Linked DNA regions of Homo sapiens: all the other regions are linked to region 4. The links are contacts of gene promoters, found by promoter capture Hi-C in blood cells and fetal thymus (Javierre and others, 2016). All regions are on one chromosome and are shown on one strand. The core of a region is centred on a gene start or on the middle of the fragment in contact, and the rest is flanking DNA. Distances in the headings are between cores, read along the strand shown.

Region 1 (3,498 bases), core at 531-3,030, 410 kb after region 4:
CTGTATATAGCTAGCCAGTTTCCCAGCAACATTTATTGAATAGGGAGTCCTTTCTCCATTGCTCATTTTTGGAAGCTTTTTCAAAGATCAGATGGTTATAGGTGTATGGTCTTATTTCTGGAGGCTATATTCTGTTCCATTGGCCTATGTGTCTGTTTTTGTATCAGTACCGTGCTGCTTTTGGTTATTGTAACCTTGTAGTTTAAAGTCAGGTAACATTATGCCTCCAGCTTTGTTCTTTAACTTAGGATTGCCATGGCTATTCAGGCTCCTTTTTGGTTCCATATAAATTTTAAAATGTTTTTTCTAGTTCTGTCAAGAATATCAATGGTAGTTTGATAGAAATCACATTGACTCTGTAAATTGCTTTGGGTAATATGGCCATTTTAATGATATACATTCTTCTTATCCATTAGCGTGGAATGTTTTTCCATTTGTTTGTGTTATCTCATTCCTTTGAGCAGTGTTTTGTAATTCTCATTGTAGAGTCCTTTCACCTCCCTGGTTAGCCACATTTCTAGGTTATTTATTTGTTTATTTATTTTGTGGCAATTGTGAATGGAATTGCATTCCTGATCTGGCTCTCAGTTTGGCTGTCATTAGTGTATAAGAATGCCAGAGATTTTTGTATGCTGATTTTGTATCCTAAAACTTTGCTGAAGTTGTTTATCAGCTGAAGAAGCTTTGGGCCAAGACTACAGGGCTTTCTATATATGGAACCATGTCATCTGCAAATAGGGACAGTTTGACTTTCTTTATTCCTATTTGGATGCCTTTATTTCTTTCTCTTGCCTGATTGTTCTGGCCTGGACTTCCAATACTATGTTGAATAGGAGTGGTGAGAGAAGACATCCTTGTCTTGTATCAGTTTTCAAGGGGAATGTTTCCAACTTTTCCGCATTCAGTATGATGTTAGCTGTGGGTTTGCCATAGATGACTTATTATTTTGATGTTTGTCCCTTCAATACCTAGTTTACTGAGAGTTCTTAACATAAAAAGACATTGAATTTTATCAAAAGCCTTTTCTGCATCTATTGAGGTAATCATGTGGTTTTTGTCTTTAGTTATACTTATGCGATGGATTACATTTATTTATTTGTGTATGTTGAACCAATCTTGCATTCCAGGGAAAAAGCCTACTTGATCATTGTGGATTAACTTTTTGATGCACTGCTGGATTTGGTTTGCAAGTAGTTTGTTAAGGATTTTTGCATTAATATTCATCAAGAATATTGGCCTGAAGTTTTCTGTTTTTGTTGTGTCTCTGCCAGGTTTTGGTATCAGAATGATGCCGGCCTCATTGAATGAGTTGGGAGGAGTCCCTCCTTCTCAATTTTTAAAATTAGTTTCAGTAGAAATGACACCAGATCTTCTTTGTACATATGGTAAAATTTAGCTCTAAATCCATCTGATCCTGGGCTTTTTGGGGGGTTGGTAGGGTATTTATTATTTGTTCAATTTCAGATCTCATTTTTGGTGTGTTCAGGTAATCAAATTCTTCCTGGTTTAGTTTTTGGAGGTTATATTGTCCAGGAATTTATCCATCTTTTTAAGGTTTTCTAGTTTGTGTGCTTAGAGGTGTTCATAGTAGTTTCTGATGGTTATTTTTATTTCTGTGTGGTGAGTGGTAACATTTCCTTTGTTGTTTCTAATTGTGTTTATTTCAATCTTCTCTTTTCTTCTTTATTAGTTTAGCTAGCAGCCTATCTATCTCATCAATTTTTTCAGAAAAACTACTCTGGGCTCACTGATCTTTTGAATGGTTTTCCATGTCTTTATTTCCTTCAGCTCAGCTTGGATTTTGGTTATCTCTAATCTTCTGCTAGCTTTGGGGTTGGTTTGCTCTTGCTTCTCTGATGCTTTCAGTTGTAATATTAGGTTGTTAATTTGAAATATTCCCTTTTGTTGTTGGTGTTTAGTGCTATACATTTCCCTGTTAACACTCTTTCAGCTGTATCCCAGAGATTCCACTATGTTGTATTTTTGTTCTCATTAGTTTCAAAAAAGTCTTGATTTTTGCCTTAATTTCATTATTTACTCAAAAGTCACTCAGAAGCAGGTTGTTTTATTTCCATGTAATTGTATGGTTTTGAGCAATTTTTAAAGTTTTGACTTCTATATTTATTGCACTGTGGTCCAAGAGTGTGTTTGTGTGATTTTGGTTCTTTTGCATTGCTGAGGATTGTTTTATGTCTGACTGCTAGTCAATTAATAGAGTGTGTGCCATATAGCAATGAGAAGAATGTATATTCTCTTGTTTTGGGGTGGAGAGTTCTGTAGAGGTCTGAAAATATAATTCTCTACGATCAGATTTATTTTAATGTTGAGTTCAGGTCCAAATATCTGTTAATTTTTCACCTCAATGATCTGTCTAATATTATCAGTGGACTGTTGAAGTCTCCCACCATTATCGTGTGGGATTCTAAATCTTTTTGTAGGTCTCTTAGAACTTGCTTTATGAATCTGGGTTATCCTGTGTTGGGCGTGTTATATTCAGATTTTTAAAATAGTGCCTGTTACCAGATTAAAGGTACACTGTACTCCTCTGTACTATCTTTGCTATTTCCTATGTGTTCCACAATAAAAAAATAAAAAAAATATAGTTACTGACATAAATATTATCTAGTAATTTAAGATAGCATTCCTCTGAAAATTAAAATTCAGTTGGCAACTGAGTACATAATAGAAAATACATCATTCATGATCTGTCTTCAGTGTTACTTTATGGTTTTAGAAAATACTTTAAATAAATCATTCAAGTTATACTTACTGAAATATAAATATCAGAGTGGTAAATGTCAACATATTAGAATAAATATTTTCTTTTCCTGGCTCCTAAATCTAAGTGAATCTAGAAGTTCATCGACTAAGAAGCTTTAATATGACAACTGGAATGGGAATATATCAAGTGTGATAACATCTCAAAGATAAATGAGGATTGCATAAGAAAGGAGATATGGGCCAATTATTGCTTACCTTTTTTGAAAAGTGCCTCATTTCAGTCCCCATAAAGATAGTCAGAGGAGGACATGGGAGAGGAAAGAGAACTGATATTCCTCTCAGGGGTACATGGCAGAGCCAAGGCTAGATTCTGCATGGCAGTCACCAACAATCATCTCATCTTTGAGCACATTCTCCTTCCTGCTTCTGTGTCCTCTCCTCTCTTCACTTACGTCTCCTTCATGTCCAGCTCGCCTCATCTGCCCATGCAATCAATCCATCAGTCACACAAATAGAAATTGTAACAGTGTATGATATAATCTATAAATGGAAGGTATCATTAGCAATAATGCTCCACTTAGAAGTCTTGGGGTCTCCCCAGGATCTTATGGCCAACACAGAGCTCTTTCCCTCTGCAAACCAGCTCACACCCAAGGCTTCCTCAGTTGGGTACATGAGACCATTATTCACCTAGTTGCTCAAGTCAAACACCAATAACTTATCCTCAGTTTCTCCCTATCCTTGCCACAATGCCACTTAATAGATCAAGTCCTCGTA
Region 2 (3,669 bases), core at 1,085-3,584, 280 kb after region 4:
GGTGAGGAGGGTTCCTAGGGCAGGGGTGGTTTCCCCCATGCTGCTCTTGTGATAGTGAGCAAGTTCTCACAAGAGCTGATGGCTTTAAGTGTGGCACTTCTCTCTCTGTTTCTCTCTCCCCACTGCTGCTATGTAAGATGTGTCTTGCTTCCCCTTGGCCTTCTGCCACAATTTTAAGTTTCCTAAGGGCTTCCAGCCATAGAGAACTGTGAATCAATTAGACCTCTTTTCTTTATAAATTACCCAGTTTGGGGCAATCCTTTATAGCAGTGTGGAAATGGATTAATATATGTGTCAAGAAAATTTTTAAGAAGTCATACAAGCATCCAGATCACAGCACCTCATGTTTCCCAATTTCTTTCTGCTGATTCAATGCCACATAAAGTCTTTTATTTTGTCTTAGTCAGCTCTTCTGTTCCCTTCAGCACAAATTTGAACCTTCCCTGGTTTAGTCTTTTCAATTCCTCTCTCTCTCTATCTCTCTCTCTCCCTCCCTCCCTCCCTCCCCTTTCTCCCTCTTCTTCTCCCTCTCTATGTCACTCTTTATCATTGTCTGGTAGAAACTTTCTCAATTAATTTCTCCCTGCCTTGCAGAATGACTCTTCATTTGCACCTAGCTTTCTCTATTTTCATTTTATTCATTCAAATACCCAATTTCTATTTACGGAGAATCTTCATTGTGTTAGTGCTCAAGATACATGATGAACAGAGCAGTACAGGACCTTGTCCTCATGGGACTCTCCTCATTTGCTAGTGGGAGAAGTAAAAATAAAACAGTCAAAGAAACAATATAGAGACTATGGTAGATCTATGAGTCAGAGTAACATCACCACTTGATCAAAAAGATCATGGGCTGGGAATGCTTAGCTTAGAACAATGGTCACTAAGAAGGTGAAATTTTAAGCTGACACCAGAAGAATAGAAATGATACACACCTGCAAAGAGCATAGAAATGAGGGTTCCAGGCAGAACACACGGCAGGACAAAAGTCAGAAGCAGGACGAGTTTGCTATGTTTTCATAACTAAGAGTAGCAGCTGATGGCTGGAACTTAGAAAGGGGGAAAATGACATGAGTGAGATCACAGAGGTCATCAGGGACATGGTCATGCAGAAATTTCTAGGCCAAGATGCAGAGTTTATAACTTATTTTATTTGCAGTAGAAAGCAATTCAAGGATGTTATGTTACAAGAAGGTATGATCTGTTTTTTTTTTTGTTTTTGTTTTTGTTTTTTTTTAATCTGACTTCTGTGTGGAAATGTCGTAGTGTCAACTTTGGATTAAGAAACTCAAGTTAGGCTGGGCATGGTGGCTCACGCCTGTAATCCCAGCACTTGAGGAGGCCGAGGTGGGCTGATCACCTGACGTCAGGAGTTCAAGACCAGCCTGGCCAACATGGCGAAACTCCGTCTCTACTAAAAATATAAAAATTAGCCGGGCATGGTGATGTGTGCCTGTAATCCCAGCTACTCAAGAGGCTGAGACGGGAGAATCACTTGAACCCAGGAGGCGGAGGTTACAGTGAGCTGAGATAGCACCACTGCACTCCAACCTGGGTGACAGAGCAAGATTCCATCTCAAGAAAGAAAAAAGAAAAAGAAAGAAAAAGAAACTCAAGTTAGAGGGCAACTCCAACAATCTTGGTGAAAGCTAAGCAAACTATCAGGATGGTCTAAGTCTGGTCTGCCACATGTCTGTAAATAAAGCTTTAGCAAAACACGGCTGCAATGATTTGCACACATTTTACATATGGCTACTTTCACACTGTAATGACGGTGTTGAATAATTGTGAAAGAAACTGTATATCCTGCAAAACAACAACAAAATTACTTTCTGGTCCTTTACGGAAAGTTTGGCAACCCTTGTTCTGGATGAAAAATTATGACGGATTGGGCTAGGATGATATCTATTGAGACATAGAGATGATGAAAGAGTCTCTATATATTTCACAGTTACAACCTCCAGGACATTCTGAAGAGTTTGGATACTGGCAATGGAAGATTCAAGAATGTTTCCTTGTTGTTTGATGGAAACAACTCTGTATGGGGATGCCATTGATTGAGATATGAAAGAATGGGGAAATACATGTTTACACAGCAGTGGAATAAAAAAAAAATCCTCTTTTAGACGTTTAAAATTGTAAATTCCTGTGAAATATCCAAGTGAAAATATCATGGAACAAGTTGTTTATGATTCTGGAACTCAGGGAAGAAGTTTGTGCTGAAGCTATGTGTGTGAGAGACATCACATAAGGAATGACTTGTGGAATCCACCTAGAGAGAGAGCTCACATCATGGTCTCAAATGGTGCATTGAGGACCCCAATATTTAGTGATCATCAGTCTCACTGTTTTTCCTCATGTTCAATTCATTTTCTTCTTCCTGCATTACCCAACTCATTTTTCATCTTCTACAGCACCTGGCTCAATCCTTCATATCAATTTTCCCACAATCTTATAACAGCCCTGCAAAATAAATGTTATTATTTGTGTATACATATAAGGAAAAAAAGGTCCCAGAGAGATTAATCAACTTGTTATAGACACTGTAAATGGTAGTTTCTGGTTACAAGGCCCATAATCTTTTTGCTCTGTAACTTTGCTTCCCAAAGAAACTGCTGATTATCAGTGGGATGTCAGGAATAACTTTTGGTTACTTTGCTGCTCACTCCCTCCTGAGGAGCACCTTGTGCATAAAAGCCTCACAGAACTGGCTTTCTCCAGGGAGATATTGAAAGAGACTTCATGCAGATTCTTTTACCCTAACAGCTTGCTAAAGACAATGATACAATCAGTTACAAATAACAAATGACAATTTAAACAGAAAAGAAGTATATTTTAAAAAGACACTCAGAAGCTCACATAAATTTTAGGAGGGCCAGAGAGCAAGTCTCAGAGGATGCACATCGAGAACGATGCCCAAATTCATGTAGCAGAACCAGACTGGTGAAGGTAAAGTAAGCTTTTCCCACAGGTCAGAGACACCATGGCTTGCATCGCTGACACTCAACATGCAACACTGGGCAGTGGATGCTTTTATTATAGCTGCTGCTGCAGCTACTGCTAAAACAAGTTATAGCTGCTGTCACTGCCACTACCTGCTGCTACAGTTACCCATCTAGGTGGGTCTCACCATAAACCACCTTCTTCATTTTGTGTTGAAACCTATCAGGGACTTCTGATACATCTCCTGAGACACTTATTATTTAAAGGCATGAGAAACTGCACTGAGCAAAGGTGGGGTTTTCCTATTCCTCTTCATCTATCTGGTGATATCATCCTAACTATAAAACACTAATTTTGTAATAAGCAAACAAATTCATCCTGATTGATATGGAGGTCAAAATTACTGCTTTTATAACTGGCCTTAAATAGACAATTAAGAGTATTATAATCAATAGACATTTACATGCTGTTTTTCAGAATTCTTTTTGAATTGGTGATATATTTGGATAATGGGATCTTGTAATAACTCTCTTGCCCACTCTTTACCAATAGTCCTATTATGCAACAGATGTCCTAATGTCACTAATCTCTAATAAAGCAATCCCCAAGACTTATTCTAACACTTCCATGAATCACTGATTAATTTAATAATTTGTCTTGTGAATAGCCAACATTCACTTTATGTAGAGAAAGTACCATAATCCTATCCATGAATGACCCTTCAAT
Region 3 (3,671 bases), core at 105-2,604, 500 kb after region 4:
ATGATCATCTCAAGAGGAGCATCTCAAGACATAGAGACACTGAGAGAAAGATAGAATAGAGGTATGGTAAGAGCCAGTGTTCCCACTGCCAGGGCCCACCTGCCACAAAGGGTGAGATAAGTCAGGAGCATTCCTTACCACAGCTGTTTTCCCAGTGGGAGACACAGGGAGGAGTTTCCAGGCAAGAAAGCGCTGAGTCACTCACCAGCACATCTGGTCTCAGATCTTGATACCCAGCTAGAAGGGCGGAAAGGTAGAGGGCTCCTCCCCTACAAACTTTCCTGGCCAAAGTCGGCCATTGTCAGCTGTGTGGGGCAGGCCAGGAGAGAAGCTCCCCTGCCACAGTAACAATGAGCCTTTGCTTACTGTTGCTTCACCCAGCCAGCTGGGATCTTTGACTTCTGTGGTTGCCTTTAATAGTCTAAACAGCCCCGGCAAGTAGGACAGATCACCTTCATTTCACAGCTGTGGAAATTCAGGGATACTAAGTGACTTACACAAGGGAACACAGATTTGGAGAGTTGGGGCACTGGTGTCCCATCCCATGCCCTGGGGACACAGGAGGGAGTAGTGTATAGAGAGATGGTATCAGCCACACACCAGTGCTTAATTTAGGTTGGTTAAAAATGTTGAAATACAAAAAGGAATATGAAACCAAATTCCTGTTTCGTGGCTGCCTCCTGCTACAGAACACTGTTCTCACCATTTTTGTCCTCAGTCATTTCCCACCTTTGGTTATTTATTTATGAATTAGCAACTTCAACATTTGCTGATATTTTAAGAATGCTTCCACTTCCAATGACTTATGTTAAGTTAAAGTGACAGAACAGTAAAGATTCCATTAAACTATTTCTTTCTATCTCATACCTTTATGAAAGTACCATTATCACCTTTTACGTTAAAAACTCTAAGACTGATTGTAATTAATTTTTTTTTATTTTTAGGGAACAACTTAATTCTTTATTGAAGACCTATAACATTTTTTATGAGAACCAGAAAAATCTGCATATTTTATATGGAGAGGTAAGCCCACTGAAGAAAGGCAATCCGGTGTTATTCACACACACACATGCGTGCACACACACACACACACAATTCTGGAAGAAACAGGTGAAAGTTTAACTTGATTATGATTCTTTTAGACTTGGGCTTGGAACACTTGTGACTTTCTAAGCATTTTTGAGATAGAAAAGCATTTAAAAATTTTAATGACATATTTTCTTTCTATTTTAAAAATAGAATATGAATATTTTAACAGCATTTACACTGAAAATCTATCACAATACTTTCTTACAAATGCGTCAGAATGTATATAGAAAGATATTCATTGTGATGTCATTTGTAATGCAGAAAATTGAAGACATCTCTATCAATTAGGGATTATTCAAATAAATTATGATGCATCTGTAATGTCAAATTTGATTTGGGTTTTAAAATGAATGCATTAGATTCCAATAGATGTGCACTATATCAAAATAATAAAAATTTTGAAATATTAAAGAAAGAATTCAGGAAAGTCCTGAAGCTAGAAAGCATTTTTCTAACTTTTAAGTTCAGGGGTACAAGTGCAAGTTTGTTACATAGGTAAACATGTGTCATGGTGGTTTGTTGTACAGATTATTTCTTCACCCAGCTATTGAGCCTAGTACTCATTAGTTATTTTTCCTGGTCCTATCCCTCCTCCCAAATTCCACCCTCTGATAGGCCTCAGTGTCTGTGGTTCCCCTCTATGTGTCCATGTGTGCTTATCCTTTAGCTCCCACTTATAAGTGAAAGCAAACAGTATTAGGTTTTCTATACCTGCATCAGTTTGCTAAGAATGATGGCCTCTAGCTCCATCCCTGCAAAGGACATGGCCTTGTTCTTTTTTATGGCTGCATAGTATTCCATGGTGTACATGTACCACATTTTCTTTATCCCATCTATCATTAATGGGCATTTAGGTTGATTCCATGTGCTTGCTGTTATAAATAGTGCTGCAATGAACATATGTGTGAATATGTCTTTATAATAAAATGATTTATTCTCCATTGGGTATATACCCAGTAATGGGATTGCTGGGTCAAATGGTGTTTCTGTCTTTAGGTCTTTGAGGAATCAACACACTGTCTTCCTCAATGATTAGATTAATTTACACTCCCCAGCAGTGTATAAGGGTTCCTTTTTCTCCACAACCTCACCAGCATCTGTTATTTTTTGACTTTTTAATAATAGACATTCTGACTGGTGTGAGATGGTATCTCATTGTGGTTTTGATTTGCATTTTTCTAATGATCTGTTATGTAGAGCTTTTTCATATGATTGCTGGCCACATGTATGTCTTATTTTAAGAAGTGTTTGCTCATGTCCTTTGCCCACTTTTTAATGGGGTTGTTTGGTTTTTTCCCTTGTAAATTTGTCTAAGTTCCTTGTAGATGCTGAATGTTAGATCTTTGTCAGATGCATAGTTTGCAAAAATATTCTCCCATTCTGTAGATTGTCTGTTTACTCTATTGATAGTTTCTTTTGCTGTACAGAAGCTCTTTAGTTTAATTAGATCCCATTTGCCAATTTTTGGTTTTGTTGCAATTGCTTTTGGCATCTTCATCATGAAATCTTTGCCCATGCCTGTGTCCTGGATGGTATTACCTAGTTATCTTCCAGTGTTTTTGTAGTTTTACATTTTACATTTCGATCATTAGTCCATCCTGAGATAATTTTTGTATATGGTGTAAAGAAGGGATCCAGTTTCAGTTTTCTGCATATGGCCAGCCAGTTATCCGAGCACCATTTATTGACTAGGGAATCCTTTCCCCTCTGCTTGTTTTTGTCATATTTGTTGAAGATCAGATACTTGTAGATATGCAGTCTCATTTCTGGGTTCTCTACTCTGTTCCATCAGTCTGTGTGTCTGTTCTCGTACCAGTATCATGCTGTTTTGGTTACTGTAGCCCAGTAGTATAGTTTGAAGACAGGTAGTGTGATGCCTCCAGCTTTGTTCTTTTGCTTAGGATTGCCTTGGCTATTCAGGCTGTTTTGGATTCATATGAATTTTAAAATAGTTTTTTCTATTTCTGTGAAGAATGTCAACAGTAGTTTAATGGGAATAGCATTGAATCTACAAATTGCTTTGGGCAGTATTGCCATCTTAACAATATTAATTCTTCCTATCCATGATCATGGAATGATTTTCCATTTGTTTGTGTCATCTCTGATTTCTTTGAGCAGTGACTTATAGTTATCTTTGTAAATATCTTTCACTTCCCTTGTTAGCTGTACTCCTAGGTATTTTATTCTTTTTGTGGGAGTTTGTTTGGGATTTGGCTCTTGGCTTGATTGTTGTTGGTGTATAAGAATGCTAGCAACTTTTGCACATCGATTTTGTATCCTGAGACTTTGCTGAAGTTGCTTATCAGCTTAAGAAGCTTTTGGGCTGGAACGATGGGGTTTTCTCAATATAAGATTATGTCATCTGCAAACAGGGATAGTTTGACTTCCTCTCTTGCTATTTGAACGTCCTTTATTTCTTCAAAAGCATTTTTAGGAGTGCCACTGGCAGGCTACTGTACAAAGTGGCCTTATGTTTACTTTTTTTCTTTTTATTTAATTTCAGTGTTTCATTCTCCACACGTCTCTTCACTCAGCCTTGTATTCTGATGGAGCTCACTTTACATATTTACAATATCTTCCTG
Region 4 (3,380 bases), core at 242-2,741:
GCAGGCACTATTATAAGCTCTTCTACAGGGGAGAAACATGAGCAAATAAAGCATAAATTACCAAGGGTCATGAAGCAAGTTAGTGGTATGGCTGAAACTTCAGCCCTGACATCCTTATCAAGTGATCTCTACAGCTGCAGCATCCAGGGAACACTCTATTCCTAAGGTAGTCCCACTTCTTCATCCTCGTGCCACTCCCAGCCCTTCTCATAGCAGTGGCAGAATATCTCCATATCCCTGAAGTCTGCATCCACCAGGAAGAATTAAGACAGAGTATTGTAGGCCTACAGCTTAATTTTTAAAGAGAGGGGGTCATTGAAATTGATGATGAAAAGTCAGTAATCCAGTGAGAAGGCATCAGCTAAACAGGCTTGGAAATGCTTTATTGACATTCCTCTAGAACTAAAATTTCCTCGATAGCTGTTTCTCTAGAGGGAACCAATCCCAGGATGCTGGTAAATACATATGGCATGGAAATGCAATTATGTTAGCAATCTAGTATGTATATATCAGACATGTCTGCTTGTGCTTAGAGTAGTAAACAAGCGGAGTCTCATTCCCTGCTCCTTTTCTGGTGGTGTCTATGGCCTTTTCTGCCCAGGGACAGCACTAGAAAAGGCAGACCTCCTGAGCCCAACAGGCCCCTCGCAGCTCCCAGTGACTTCCATGGATCAAAACACAGACTTCCATACAACAAAAAATTGATGCTACTGGAATTACTAGAGTTCGAGATGTTCCAAGATTTCAAAGAGAGAAAGGATGGGGGATTGCAACACTGTTAACTAAAATAAACACTGAATTGACCCTTGGCAATGGTCTGTTCCCGCACCCAACACCTGGCTCCACTACGTTGAAACACACACACACACACACACACACACACACACACACACACACACACGTGATATTTGCTTTTAAGATCATAAAACACCAGGAAGGAGACAAAAGCTCTTATGCGTCATCTGAGATGACACATGTACTGTTAAAGCGTGCGTTTATTTCAAACATTAATGAAATTTGCAGAACCCAAACTAAAGAGAGAGGATAGATAAGACATGCTGCAGTTCTTGCCCTAACTTTCAATCCCAACAACTGAAATGTCTTCCAGAGAAGTAACTCCCCCCGGTAAGGATGTAGCGCGGTCCCTACGTGGGTCTAAGGGATCTGACCCACGACGCACTGCACTGGGTTCACGAAGCGCCTCCTCGCAGGCGGTTATCTCGGTATCTCTGAGAGCGGCGGGCTCTCGCTCCCGCTCCAGGGATTCGGGGCAGAAAGAGAACATCCCACAGTTGGCGGGAGTTACGCAAGACAGTCAGACCCGGACGTCACTCGTGAGTGCCCCGACCCCCCTCCACCCCAGAGGCGGGGCCATCGCCTTCCTTCCGAACTCGGGATCGATCTGGAGCTCCGGGAATTTCCCTGGCCCGGGACTCCGGGCTTTCCAGCCCCAACCATGCATAAAAGGGGTTCGCCGTTCTCGGAGAGCCACAGAGCCCGGGCCACAGGCAGCTCCTTGCCAGCTCTCCTCCTCGCACAGCCGCTCGAACCGCCTGCTGAGCCCCATGGCCCGCGCCACGCTCTCCGCCGCCCCCAGCAATCCCCGGCTCCTGCGGGTGGCGCTGCTGCTCCTGCTCCTGGTGGCCGCCAGCCGGCGCGCAGCAGGTGGGTCCCGGCGCCCTGGGGTCCCCGGGCCGGACGCGGCTGGGGTGGGCGCCCCGCGCCGACAGCCCCGCTCAATCAGCGAGTCTCTTCTTCCCTAGGAGCGCCCCTGGCCACTGAACTGCGCTGCCAGTGCTTGCAGACCCTGCAGGGAATTCACCTCAAGAACATCCAAAGTGTGAAGGTGAAGTCCCCCGGACCCCACTGCGCCCAAACCGAAGTCATGTAAGTCTCGCCCATCGCTGCCGCTGCCACTGCTGGGGTCCCCGACTCTCCCGCTGCCCCAAACCCTGTCCTCAGCCCGACCTCCTGTCTCACGAGATTCCCTTCTCTCTGCAGAGCCACACTCAAGAATGGGCAGAAAGCTTGTCTCAACCCCGCATCGCCCATGGTTAAGAAAATCATCGAAAAGATGCTGAAAAAGTAAGTTATAATTTCCATGTACACAGGCGACTGGAGCTGTTGGTCAGAAATACTGGCGTCTGCCCCCTAAAAAGTAAATCAGGAAAACCCAGGGTTAGCTGCAGGACTGAAAAAATTATTATTTTCACAAAGTTGCCATTAAGGTTATTAATCTGTTCTGGTGCCAGAGGATATTCCCAGTGCCCAGGGTCACCACCCAGGTTCTTCCCTCCTGCCAGTGAATGTAGGTAAAACTGCTTTCATGTAAGGTCTCATTGGAGTTTGCCAGTTGTGCTGAAGTGTTTTCCACCTGTTAAAAAACACAAGCTTCATTTCCCCTAGTTCCTACTGACTTTCAGACCTGAAAAGCAGACCCCCTGGTTTTTTGTAAAAGTTTAGGGTTGAAGTGCAGAGATTTCACAATAATATTGCACTGGGTATATAACTGGTTGCCACCACCTATTAGCCATGTCACTCAGAGACAATATTATTTAGTTTATCTGAGACTCAGCAAAACAGGGAAAATAATGGTAGCTACATCATGAGGTTGCTTTGAGGCTCAAGTGAGGCCCAGTATGACAAAGAGCAATAGGCTCTGGCTGTTTTAGCCAGTAAAACAGTGTAGACTGCCACTCCTCCACCCCACGTCACCCCCATTCCTAAAAGAGCATCCCAAGCCTAGAGGTCCTTGCCACACAGCACAGCTGTCACAGGCAGTACCCACTTGGGTGCCAGGCTGGGGAAACTGCATTCAGAAAACTCTAGAGCCTGGGGAAACAGGACAGGAGAAGACTGTTGTGCAGTCAGCTTTCCTGAGCACCTACTCAGGGCACCCATTTTCTCATTACAGTGGCAAATCCAACTGACCAGAAGGAAGGAGGAAGCTTATTGGTGGCTGTTCCTGAAGGAGGCCCTGCCCTTACAGGAACAGAAGAGGAAAGAGAGACACAGCTGCAGAGGCCACCTGGATTGCGCCTAATGTGTTTGAGCATCACTTAGGAGAAGTCTTCTATTTATTTATTTATTTATTTATTTGTTTGTTTTAGAAGATTCTATGTTAATATTTTATGTGTAAAATAAGGTTATGATTGAATCTACTTGCACACTCTCCCATTATATTTATTGTTTATTTTAGGTCAAACCCAAGTTAGTTCAATCCTGATTCATATTTAATTTGAAGATAGAAGGTTTGCAGATATTCTCTAGTCATTTGTTAATATTTCTTCGTGATGACATATCACATGTCAGCCACTGTGATAGAGGCTGAGGAATCCAAGAAAATGGCCAGTGAGATCAATGTGACGGCAGGGAAATGT
Region 5 (3,737 bases), core at 1,097-3,596, 460 kb after region 4:
CGAGATATCATCTAACCTCAGTTAAAATGATTTTTATCCAAAGGATAGGCAATAACAAATGCTGGCAAGGATGTGAAGAAAAGGAACTCCTCTTGGTGGGAACGTAAATTAGTACAAACACAATGGAGAACACTGTTGGTGGGAATGTAAATTAGTACAGCCACTATGAAGAAAAGTTTGCAGATTCCTCAAAAAACTAAAACTAGCACTACCCTATGACCCAGCAATCCCACAGCTAGGTATATAACCAAAAGGAAGAAAATCAGTGTTAGTGTTATCTGCATGCCCATGTTTATTGCAGCACTATCCACAATAGCCAAGATTTGAATGCAACCTAAGTGTCCATCAACAGATGCATGGATAAGGGAAATGTGGTACATATACACAATGGAATACTATTCAGCCATAAAAAAGAATGAGATCCTGTCATCCTGTCATTGCAATAATATGGATGGAACTGGAGGTCATTATGTTATTTAAAATAAGTCAGACAGGGAAAGTCAAACTTCACGTGTTCTCACTTATTTGTGAAAACTAAAAATTAAAACAATTGAACTCATGGAGATGGAGTAGAAGAAGGGATATCAGAGAATAGGAAGGGTAGTCAGTGGGGTTGGTGGGAACAGAGTGATGGTTAGTGGGTACAAAATAAGTCAGAGGGAATGAATAAGACCCGATGTTTGCTAGCACAACAGGGTGACTATAGTCAAAAGTTATTTTAAAATAACTAAGAGAGTATAATTGTATTTTTTTAACATAGAGGATAAATGCTTGAGGGAATGGATACCCCATTTGCCCGATGTGATTACTGTGTATTGCATGCCTGTATCAAAATATCTCATGTAACCCCAAAATATACACACCCTACTATGTACTCACAAAAAATTAAAAATTATATATATGTTCATATATGACACATATATCAGCTAAATTTTTAAGTAAAAAATGGCAAGCTAATCCTAAAATTTATATGGAAATTCAAAGAACCTAGAAGAGCAAAACAACTTTGCAAAATAATAATAATATTAGATAATTAATACAACCTGACTGCAAGGTATATTATAAAGGAAGCGTAATCAATGTTATGTGGTATTGAGATAATGTTAGGCAAATGTATCCATGAAACAGGATAATTTTCTGGAAAAGATCTACATACAAATGAACAGATTATTTTCTACAAAAGTAGCAAAATTCAGTTGAGAAAGTGTGGTATAGTAAATTTTATTCACACAATCTAAATTAAGCCTCCATAAAGTTTATTTAAACAGAAGAAATAGGTCATAGTGCCCCCAAAATTTGGGAACTACTCAAGATTCCTGGGATTGTTGGACCAACATGAAATAAAAGCAGAAAAAGCACAGAACATTAGATGCCAAAAGCAAAGGTAAACTGTGAAAATTAGAGGGGAAAACTACATAGCCTAAATAAGAGTGGCTCAGATAGAGTAGTATTTATTTCACTGTGTGTTTTCATAATATACATGCAGACACTGCCCATAAGGTATATAATTACATCACTCAAGTGCTTACCTTACTTCTGTCAGTATACCATGATCTGCTTGACATCACAAGAATTTAGCCCAGGAAGGATCCCTTATTGCAAACAGGATATGCTCCAGGAGCTGTTTGTTGTGGCTGTAATCAACATAAACTCAACTGTCTCCTATTTTCTGAAACTATGCAAGCACCTATGACCCACTTGTAACTAGAGTTATTAAGGATGGGACAGAAAGCAGTTGTGAATCCATCTAAAAACTACAATCAATGGTTTATAACATTTTTAAAACTATTTTTGAATTTCAATAGCTTTGGGGGTACAAGTGGTTTTTGATTACATGGATGAATCGTACAGTGGTGAAGTATAAGATTTTAGTGCACCTGTAACCCAAGTAGTATTCAGTTTACCCAATATGTAGTATTTTATCCTCAGCCCCCATCTCATCCCCTCCTTCTAAATCTCCAAAGCCCATTATACCACTCTGCATGCCTTCGTGTACCCGTAGCTTAGCTCTCACTTATAAGTGAGAATATATGGTATTTGGTTTTCCATTCCTGATTTAGTTCACTTAGAATAATGGCCTCTAGCTCCTCCAAGCTACTGCAAAATATATTTTTTTATTCTTTTTTATGGCTGACTAGTATTGCATGGTGTGTATATACCATTTTATTTATCCACTCATTGGGCAACGAGCACTTAGGTTGGTTCCATGTCTTTGCAATTGTGAATTGTGCTGCAAGAAACATACACAAGAAAATGTCTTTTTGATGTAATGACTTCTTTTCCTTTGGGTAAATACTAGCAGTATCTGGTATATCTACCATTTGCTGAATCAAATGGTATATATACTTTTAGTTCTTTAAGAAACCTCTATAGTGATTTCTATAGAGGTTATTCTAATTTACATTCCCAATAGCAGTGTGTAAGTGTCCCCTTTTCACCAAATCGATATCGATACCAATATCTATTGTTTTTTGACTGTTTAATAATGGCCATTCTTGTAGAAGTAAGATAATATCTCACTGTGGTTTTAATTTACATATCTCTGATGATTAGTGATGTTGAGCATTTTTTTCATATGTTTGTTGGCCTTTTGTATATCTTCTTTCATGAAATATCTATTCATGTCATTTGTCCCTTTTTTAATTGAATTTTTTCTTGCTGATTTGTTTGAGTTCCTTGTACATTCTGGATATTAGTCATTTGTTCAATGGTAGTTTGCAAATATTTTCTCCTATTCTGTGGGTTGTCTGTTTATTCTGATGAATATTTCTTTTGCCTAATGGAAGTTTTTTTAGCCTAATTAGGTCCCATTTATTTATTTTTGTTTTTGTTGCATTTGCTTTTGGGGTCTTAGTCATAACTTATTTTTCTAGGCCAATGTCCAGGAGAGATTTTCCTTGGTTATCTTCTAGAATTCTTATGGTTTCAGGTCTTAGATTTAAGTTGATTTTTGTATAAAGTGAGATATAAGGGCCCAGATCATTCTTCTACATGTGGTTATCCAGTTTTCCCTGCACCATTTATTAAATAAGGTGTCCTTTCCAGAATTATGTTTTTGTATGCTTTGTTGAAGATCAGTTGCTTAGAAGTATTTGACTTTATTTCTGGGTTTTCTGTTCTGTTCCATTAGTCTGTGTGTCCACATTTATACCAATACCATGCTGTATTGGTAATTATAGCCTTGTAGTATAAATTGAAGGCAGGTAATATGATGCCTCCAGATTATTTCATTTTGCTTAGGAGTGCTCTGGCTATTCAGGCTCTTTCTTGGTTCCATATAAATTTTAGGATTGTTTTTTCCACCTCTGTAAAAAAAAAAATGTGTCGGTATCTTGATAGGAATTCCATTGCATCTGTAGATTGCTTTGGGCAGTATGGCCATTTTTATGATATTGACTCCTCCAATCCACAACGTGGGATGTTTTTTCATTTATTTGTGTCATTTGTGATTTCTTTCTGCAATGTTTTGTGGTTCCCCTTTTAAAGATCTTTCACCTCCTTGGTTAAGTATATTCCAAGAATTATTTTTTGGCGGCTATTGTAAAATGAATTGAGTTCTTGATTTTATTATCAGCTTGGTCATTGTTGGTATATAGCAATGCTACTAATTTTTGTACATTGATTTTGTAACCTAAGACTTTACTGAATTTATTCATCAAATCTAGGGGTCGTTTGGAAGAATCTTTAGGGTTTTCTGGGGGTCTATGATTATATCATCAATGAACAGTCATAGTTTG
Region 6 (3,295 bases), core at 608-3,107, 260 kb after region 4:
GCAGGCCTGAGAATTTTCATTTCAATTTATGTTAATCAGTATAATTTGCTGAGTCTCAAATGTATGACTGTTACCCACTTTCATTACATATTCATTCATTTGAGGAAATTCCAGTACGATGTTTTTCCAGAGTCTGCAAACACATTCAATTGTTAGCAAGTACCGTTTGATCCTCTTTTGCTGTGTAAGAAGTCAACCTTAAATTTAGTGGCTTAAAATGACAGTTTATTATTTTGATAATTCTACACGTTAATGTGAGATTCTTCTGCTAAGCTCAATTAAGTGGGTGCAGTCAGAAGAAACTGAAATGGATGAAAATCAAAACTGGCCTCATTCCTATGAGAGGTGGTTGGTGTTGGCTGCTGGCTGAGATTTCTGCTAGGGTACCTGGGTCCTTCTCTTCCTCTTTTAAATAGCATTATTTTACTTCTGAGGAATAAACAGAAAGGATGAAGGGAGGGAGAGAAGGAAAGGGGAGAGAAGAGGAGAAGAGGGAAGGGGAAAGAAGAAAGAAAATAGAAAAAAAGTCAACACAAAACACAAGCCCCTCCACTCTCCTCCTTCTTTCTTACTTCTCCTTTTCCTTTCTCCTAGTCCCTCCCCTCACCTCTCCTCCCCTTTCTTTCTCTCCCCTTATTAGAAAATCTTTGTTCTGTGGGAAACAGTATATTTGCTGTAAAGAGATCTTAACTCAGACAGAAAGCTCTTCATTTTTATAATTTCCAGATTTATAAGGATCTTGCATAGGGTCAGGTATGTAACAAGATTATCAATAAAGGTTAATAAATTGATATTTGATTGAAGAATGTTTATATGAAGGAAAATACATCATAATTTTTGATAGTTACCATGTACTTCACAAAAAAATAGAATATACAGCTTTCAAAAGCTTCTATAAAAAGACTCATAGAAAAAATTTTAGGAGTACTAATAATTAGTCATGCATATGTAAAAAGAATATAAATAAATTAAGAAAAAATAAGTATGTTTAAACTACTAAGTTCTCAGTTTTCTCATTTGTAAGGGGGAGTTTGAACTAGGAGTCTTGGGAAAGAAATTATTAATAATATTTACCAAGAATCTACTTTGTTCCAGGGTAGTGCCTGTGAGATAGCTATTATACTGATTTTACAGGTGAGGAAGCTGGGGAAGGTAGATGTGAAACAAATTGTCAAGTTCACATAGCTGGAAATACACAAAACTAGATTTGAAATGCAATTGCTCTAATTCTGTACTGCACCACAAAATATAAAGAAGTATAATTAGCTTCTCTTGCTGGAAGTAAGTCAACTAGTTTTCTCTTTATCTAACCCTAGAGGTAGATTAAAAACAAACATAAATTTATGTGTTAGAGAAACGTCTCTGTTAAAAATACAAAAAATTAGCTGGGTGTGGTGGCAGGCACCTGTAGTCCCAGCTACTCAGGAGGCTGAGGCAAGAGAATGGCATGAACCCAGGAGATGGAGCTTGCAGTGAGCTGAGATTGCGCCACTGCACACCAGCCTGGGCAACAGAGCGAGACTCCGTCAAAAAAAAAAAAAAAAAAAAAGTGGATTTTCCAGAGAAGCGTCCTTGCAACTTATCTATGTTTCAGAAACAGAACTTTGAAATTTGTAGAAACAAAATTATACACCCAAACTCTAGGTCTTTCTATGTTCTTATCTCACTCCACATATTTGAGGTATGAACAATCCTTCTTAGGAATATAACATTAATTTTTCTGACTAAGAATGAACCAGGACTGTCAGCCAAAATCCAAATCATGGTACCTTCTCCTCCTCTTCCTTGATTTAGTCAGGGAGGCAACTAGAAATCCCCAAGTGCTCCTTCCATCTGGTAAATTTCTCATTTTGTAACATACAGGAAGGTATTTTGAAGTTATATACAACATGAGAGTTATCCACAGCAATTATTTTCCTTAAGCAAGAATTAAAATCATGATAGAAAAACAAAGCCACTAGTCATATTTTATCATAGATCTTGTCATACCTTCAGGAATTGAAGGATTATATGAATGCGTCACACATAGAGGCAAACAGGAAATTCTGGTATAATGAAGGACATTAATTATACATTTAAAATTGTCTGGATTGGAGCAGTAACAGAGTAGATTTTAGCTGAGCATTTGTTCAATATCTAGTGACTTTATACATAAGATAGAGTTTCAGACGGATAACAGAGTGAAAATAGTATTTAGGGGTTAGTATGAAGAAACTAGAAGACTTATCCCTAGGATATTTACATTAGATTAAGTTTCCCCAAATATGTTAGTCCTTGAGTTTGCTAGTAGAAAGATCAACTAGGAATGGTTGAAAGAGTGAACAGTAGCTATCATTGAGTTGCTTGTATAGGTTACTCTTCAGTAATATACTGTAATCTATTTTCTCTATAGAGTGACCATTTGCGGAATGGGCCTGACAACTAGAATTGCAAGAATATTAGAAATCATGTTTCATTCTATTTCTATGAACAAACTAAACTTACAAGTGTTGCTTCTTAAAAAAACAGAGCTTGATGATAAAAACAAACAAACAAACAAAAAAACAAACAAACAAAAAACCATTGAGACAAGCCTGGCCGACATGGTGAAACTACATCTCTACTAAAAATACAAAAAATTAGCTAGGCGTGGTGGTGCATGCCTGTAGTCCCAGCTACATGGGAGGCTGAGGCAGGAGAATCACTTGAACCTGGGAGGCGGAGGTTGCAGTAAGCCGAGATTGTGTCACTGAACTCCAGCCTGGGTGACAGTGAGACTTGGTCTCAAAAAAAAAAAACAAAAACAAAAAACTAACCAGCAATGTTTATTTCCTTATGAAGCTTATATTTCACCTGTACAAAGGGCATTTAATATTCTTTAATCTTTTATAATCAAGCATTTTTCAATAAGTATTTTGGAGTTAATGTGACATAGCAGGGATTGTTTTAAACACTGAAATTTAGAGCTCATTTTTGTAATTTGGTTTGCTTTCTAGTATTTCCCCAGAATTACTGTATCATCCATAAGTTCAAAAAAAATACCATTTGAGAGAGCAAAAAGAGACCACAGAAGTTTAATGCATTTTAAAAAATTAGAGATATTTTGTACTTTTTTATTGTTGAAAAAATGATTAGAAAACCCATCTCTGAAGCTACTTTTTAAGTTTTTTCATATCTTTGTGTCTCTTTCTCTCTCTGTTATTTAAATATATCAATATATAATAATTAAAAAATATTAATCCAATTTATATTTTATATATAAAGAGAGAGATAAAACATACAGGAAAGCCTAGGTTAGATATACTAAAGTATACAA
Region 7 (3,575 bases), core at 731-3,230, 480 kb after region 4:
GATCCTTTACTTTTAACTGAGATAGAAACCCAATGCTGACAGTCCATTTGCTTATATAGATTCATTGATTGCAATGTAGGTGGGGAATTCACGGTTACTAGAGTTACATGGGCTTCATATAAAAGCTTAGATTTTTAAAATATTCAAGTATAGGCCATTTGAAAACAAAACCTCTGAGAAAGGAATTCTGAATATTTTCCTTTCACATTACAGTTAGAGAGTTATTCTGTTGCAAAAATTAATTTGTATGTTTAAAATGATAAATTATAGTGATTTCATCACTTTCATAACATAATCTCAACAACCAAACTTAACTAATACCACTGCTTTCAGGAGTAGAACATGAAGTGTCTCCTATTTAAGTAATAAGGATGTTAACTTAAAGGAAAACTTCATCATCACCTAGAGCCTAGTAAAGGAGCTTAAGAGGAGAGAGTGTCGATTCTTTTGCAGCAAATATACAAACAGGAAAAATGAGTCGTGATCTTTGTGACGTCAGCCTAAGAATTTCTACTGGGAAGCTCAGGTGAAGCAGAAAATTTTTGAGTTCCACCACACCAGTAATTCCAGAAGATGCTGTCGGCAGACTGAGCAGCGCCTCCCAGACCCAGTGGTGGCAAGATGCCTTAAGTGCCTTAATACAAATTTGCTTCTCTGACCGTTTCTGCTTTCTTTATCTCCCTGAGGGCACCTTGAGCAGAATAAAATGCATGGCATTAGTACCATGTAAATATGCAATAGAACAGTAAAGTTTTGGCATTTCCAATTAGATTCCACTTGAACTGAGGGCAGTGGCATGCTCACATAGAAGTGTGTTTGATTCATATTCTGCTTAGTCCTCTCTTAGATTCAATGATTATAATACATTATTTCTATCTCAAAACCAACAATCACTGACTGCAACCAATATTACTTAATTAAGTGATAGTTTGTATATATGCCAACTCTTGACCTTTACTGTCTCTGCAAATAAAGCACATTTTAAGAAAAAGTATGGAGCCAAATGTTTCCCAGAAACCATCACTCTGTTAACTCTTTTCCTTTTTTGAGAGAACTAGATACTGGATGGAATTATAGATGCTTTGTCTCATTTTCTTGAAGTGATGTAATTGCATATAACTCTGCTCTTCTCTACTCCAAGGTTCCAGGTCATAACTTTGAGAAAACAGTTTCGTTTTGGAGATGAATACATAATTGTAACTTTCTATTGCTTCTTCAAGCTGAAACAATATTTTATTAAAAAGACTCTCCGTGTGTACAGCCCTTAACATACTCTTATCTCATAATTGAAATACACACTTGCTATTCTAGTGTGATACTTTCTGTTCTTTTTTTAAGTAGCTTTTACTGGGGACGTGGGTGAGAGAGATGTAACATATATTCCTTGTCTATGATTTAGACAGTACATACAAAATAAAAAAAGAAATAATTATCACACATAATCTCTTAGCTCTTAATTTTACCATTAATATTATAATATACCTCTCTGTATGTTGGATGTATTCAATATTTTGTGTATGTTTTATCTATATGCCTGCATATATTCACTCACTTTAGAAGACACAAAAATGAAATAGCAATAATTCTGTCCTAAAGGACCTAGTAATCAAATTAAGTAAAATAAAATATGGTTAGAGAGAGAAAGCAGTAAGTAATTAGAAAGCTACAGAAAATTTCCTGTGAAATTTCAGAAGCAAGAGAAATTGTCTTTGGCTGGGAAATACAGGGAAGTTAGCACCTGTATATATATGTATAGATAGATAGATAGATAGATAGATAGATAGATAGATAGATAGATATAGATATATGTATATATATTAGTTCTTTGTAAAATCATTAGCATTATGACACTTTGTGCACCTTGTGGCCTCAGAAATAAGAGGCTATAGATATAGATACAGGCTATACTTTCTGTGCCTAGCACGGTAGCAGGTGCAGAGAAGGAACTCGTGAAATATTTGTTGAATTTACAAACGAGTGAACCCAATTTTCCACTTTTAGATATGTAACCATTTAATTAACTCATGGTTGGATAACAGGAAGTTACTTTAAATGACTGACCCATTTGATTTAATTTGTACTAGAATTCACTTCCTGTCCTCTGGCCTCATTCTGGTCACAAGGCAACTGGTAAGTCCAGGCAAGCCCACCTCTAGGCAGGAATGCAGAGCAGGGGGAGGTGAACCACGTTCCAGCATTGCTGGAACGCTAATGCTGCCCAACACTGCCTCCTCAGGCTCCATCCAGATCTCATTGGCTTGTTCAGACCAATTCTACCTCTCCTATACTTCTAGTGCTGTTGATTTCTCCAGGACTTAATTGCTGACCTATCTAATTCCCTGTTTCTCCAGCTTCATTGTTTCTGGACAAAATGAAAAAGTAAATAACCAAACTTATTAAATAATGATCTTATTTTACACACAATCTAAGTCAATAATCTCTGGCCCCAGGGCCTACATAGATTTGTAACAACCATCTTCCTCCTCAAGTTGTAGTTTATTATGTTCTACCAAAATTACTGAACATCCCAAGTAAGACCTCCAGGCTTCTAGAACTGTAATTTTTTCTTTCTTCATAAATTCTCTCCCTCGTTGCTATTCATGACTTCTCTGTTATTCTCCTCTTAAGTCCTTGAGAAAATTTGCTCAGATGCTTATATCTACCAAGTCTTTATAATTTAGGAGATTTTCACAAGGGCCCTAGCAGGTTTTAGTTTGCTATGAATCATGGTGAATGGGAATGGGAAGATGAGGATGAAAAACTATTTGAATTCATAGATCTATGCCTCACTTCATTGTTTTTGTTTGTTTATTTGTTTTGCTCTTTTTTTTTTTTTTTTTTTGAGACAGAGTCACACTCTATCACCCAGGCTGGAGTGCAGGGACACAATCTTGGCTCACTGCAACCTCCATCTCCCAGGTTTAAGTGATTCTCGGGCCTCAGCCTCCCAGGTAGCTGGGATTAAAAGTGTGTTCCACCACACCCGGCTAACTTTTGTATTTCACTTCACTGTTAATACTAACAATGGGACTTTTACCAAAGCATGTTCTTACCTTTCAGGTATTTAAACTGTTTGAATATTTTATTTACCCAATTTTTAGATCAGACATGAATAATATTATTTCCTACTCAAATATTATGTGCTGCCTATGAATGAAAATTTTATCCTGTTTTTATTTTCTTACATTAAATTATATTCAACTTTCTTCCTTCCTAAAGTCAGAAAATAATATAAGAGCCTTGGAAACCCTTTCATCACATCTTCTGAAGTCTTCTGAAGCTGGCTATGAGTTACCTCAGCATAGATCAACAGTGTGTCACTATAACTACATTGCAATTATTTGCCCTCTTTAATGATATCTTTGATATTTCTTATGAATGCAAATAAAGAGTGAGCCAGTTGGAAAGCTACTGCAATGATTTTTCAGTCCATCACTGCCAATTTTCACTTTGTAATTATAAGAAGCTGCTATCAGTGGTTCTTCAGTTCCAAATATCCCCAGTGTCTGGTGAGGGAAGCAAGCTGTCTGGTTCTTAGATGGTCTTTTTGCTATGCTCTGACATGGTGGAAGGGT

The links. The method cuts DNA at HindIII sites, captures the fragments that hold promoters and counts their contacts. A CHiCAGO score of 5 or more calls a contact.
Region 1: a fragment that was not itself captured here is called in contact with the fragment with the promoter of CXCL2 in region 4 in 7 of 17 cell types (M0 macrophages, M2 macrophages, monocytes and 4 more); the score reaches 8.4 in M0 macrophages.
Region 2: a contact is called between a fragment that was not itself captured here and the fragment with the promoter of CXCL2 in region 4, in 3 of 17 cell types (monocytes, M0 macrophages and M2 macrophages). The highest score is 6.1, in monocytes.
Region 3: a contact is called between a fragment that was not itself captured here and the fragment with the promoter of CXCL2 in region 4, in 2 of 17 cell types (fetal thymus and neutrophils). The highest score is 9.3, in fetal thymus.
Region 5: a contact is called between a fragment that was not itself captured here and the fragment with the promoter of CXCL2 in region 4, in 1 of 17 cell types (neutrophils). The highest score is 8.0, in neutrophils.
Region 6: a fragment that was not itself captured here is called in contact with the fragment with the promoter of CXCL2 in region 4 in 1 of 17 cell types (monocytes); the score reaches 5.1 in monocytes.
Region 7: a fragment that was not itself captured here is called in contact with the fragment with the promoter of CXCL2 in region 4 in 2 of 17 cell types (neutrophils and fetal thymus); the score reaches 6.9 in neutrophils.

The regions. Positions count from the first base shown.
Region 1 is chr4:73,684,675-73,688,172 of GRCh38, reverse strand. No RefSeq gene overlaps it. Among named protein-coding and RNA genes, the nearest start is that of UMLILO, 24 kb to the left of the region's middle. The HindIII fragment of the contact is 2,192 bases long and covers 685-2,876 here.
Region 2 is chr4:73,819,744-73,823,412 of GRCh38, reverse strand. No RefSeq gene overlaps it. Among named protein-coding and RNA genes, the nearest start is that of CXCL6, 15 kb to the left of the region's middle. The HindIII fragment of the contact is 1,254 bases long and covers 1,708-2,961 here.
Region 3 is chr4:73,595,992-73,599,662 of GRCh38, reverse strand. It overlaps RASSF6 (Ras association domain family member 6), which reads left to right. Exons shown (of 11, transcript NM_177532.5): 3 at 945-1,023. Among named protein-coding and RNA genes, the nearest start is that of RASSF6, 23 kb to the left of the region's middle. The HindIII fragment of the contact is 4,104 bases long and covers 1-3,406 here.
Region 4 is chr4:74,097,306-74,100,685 of GRCh38, reverse strand. CXCL2 (C-X-C motif chemokine ligand 2) reads left to right here and starts at 1,491. Exons shown (of 4, transcript NM_002089.4): 1 at 1,491-1,665; 2 at 1,764-1,887; 3 at 2,002-2,085; 4 at 2,915-3,380. The coding sequence starts at 1,566. The coding sequence ends at 2,930. The HindIII fragment of the contact is 3,135 bases long and covers 1-2,029 here.
Region 5 is chr4:73,636,895-73,640,631 of GRCh38, reverse strand. No RefSeq gene overlaps it. Among named protein-coding and RNA genes, the nearest start is that of RASSF6, 18 kb to the right of the region's middle. The HindIII fragment of the contact is 4,804 bases long and covers 1-3,737 here.
Region 6 is chr4:73,840,154-73,843,448 of GRCh38, reverse strand. No RefSeq gene overlaps it. Among named protein-coding and RNA genes, the nearest start is that of CXCL6, 5.1 kb to the right of the region's middle. The HindIII fragment of the contact is 1,931 bases long and covers 892-2,822 here.
Region 7 is chr4:73,614,446-73,618,020 of GRCh38, reverse strand. All of the region lies in intron 1 of RASSF6 (Ras association domain family member 6), which reads left to right. Among named protein-coding and RNA genes, the nearest start is that of RASSF6, 4.2 kb to the left of the region's middle. The HindIII fragment of the contact is 3,705 bases long and covers 128-3,575 here.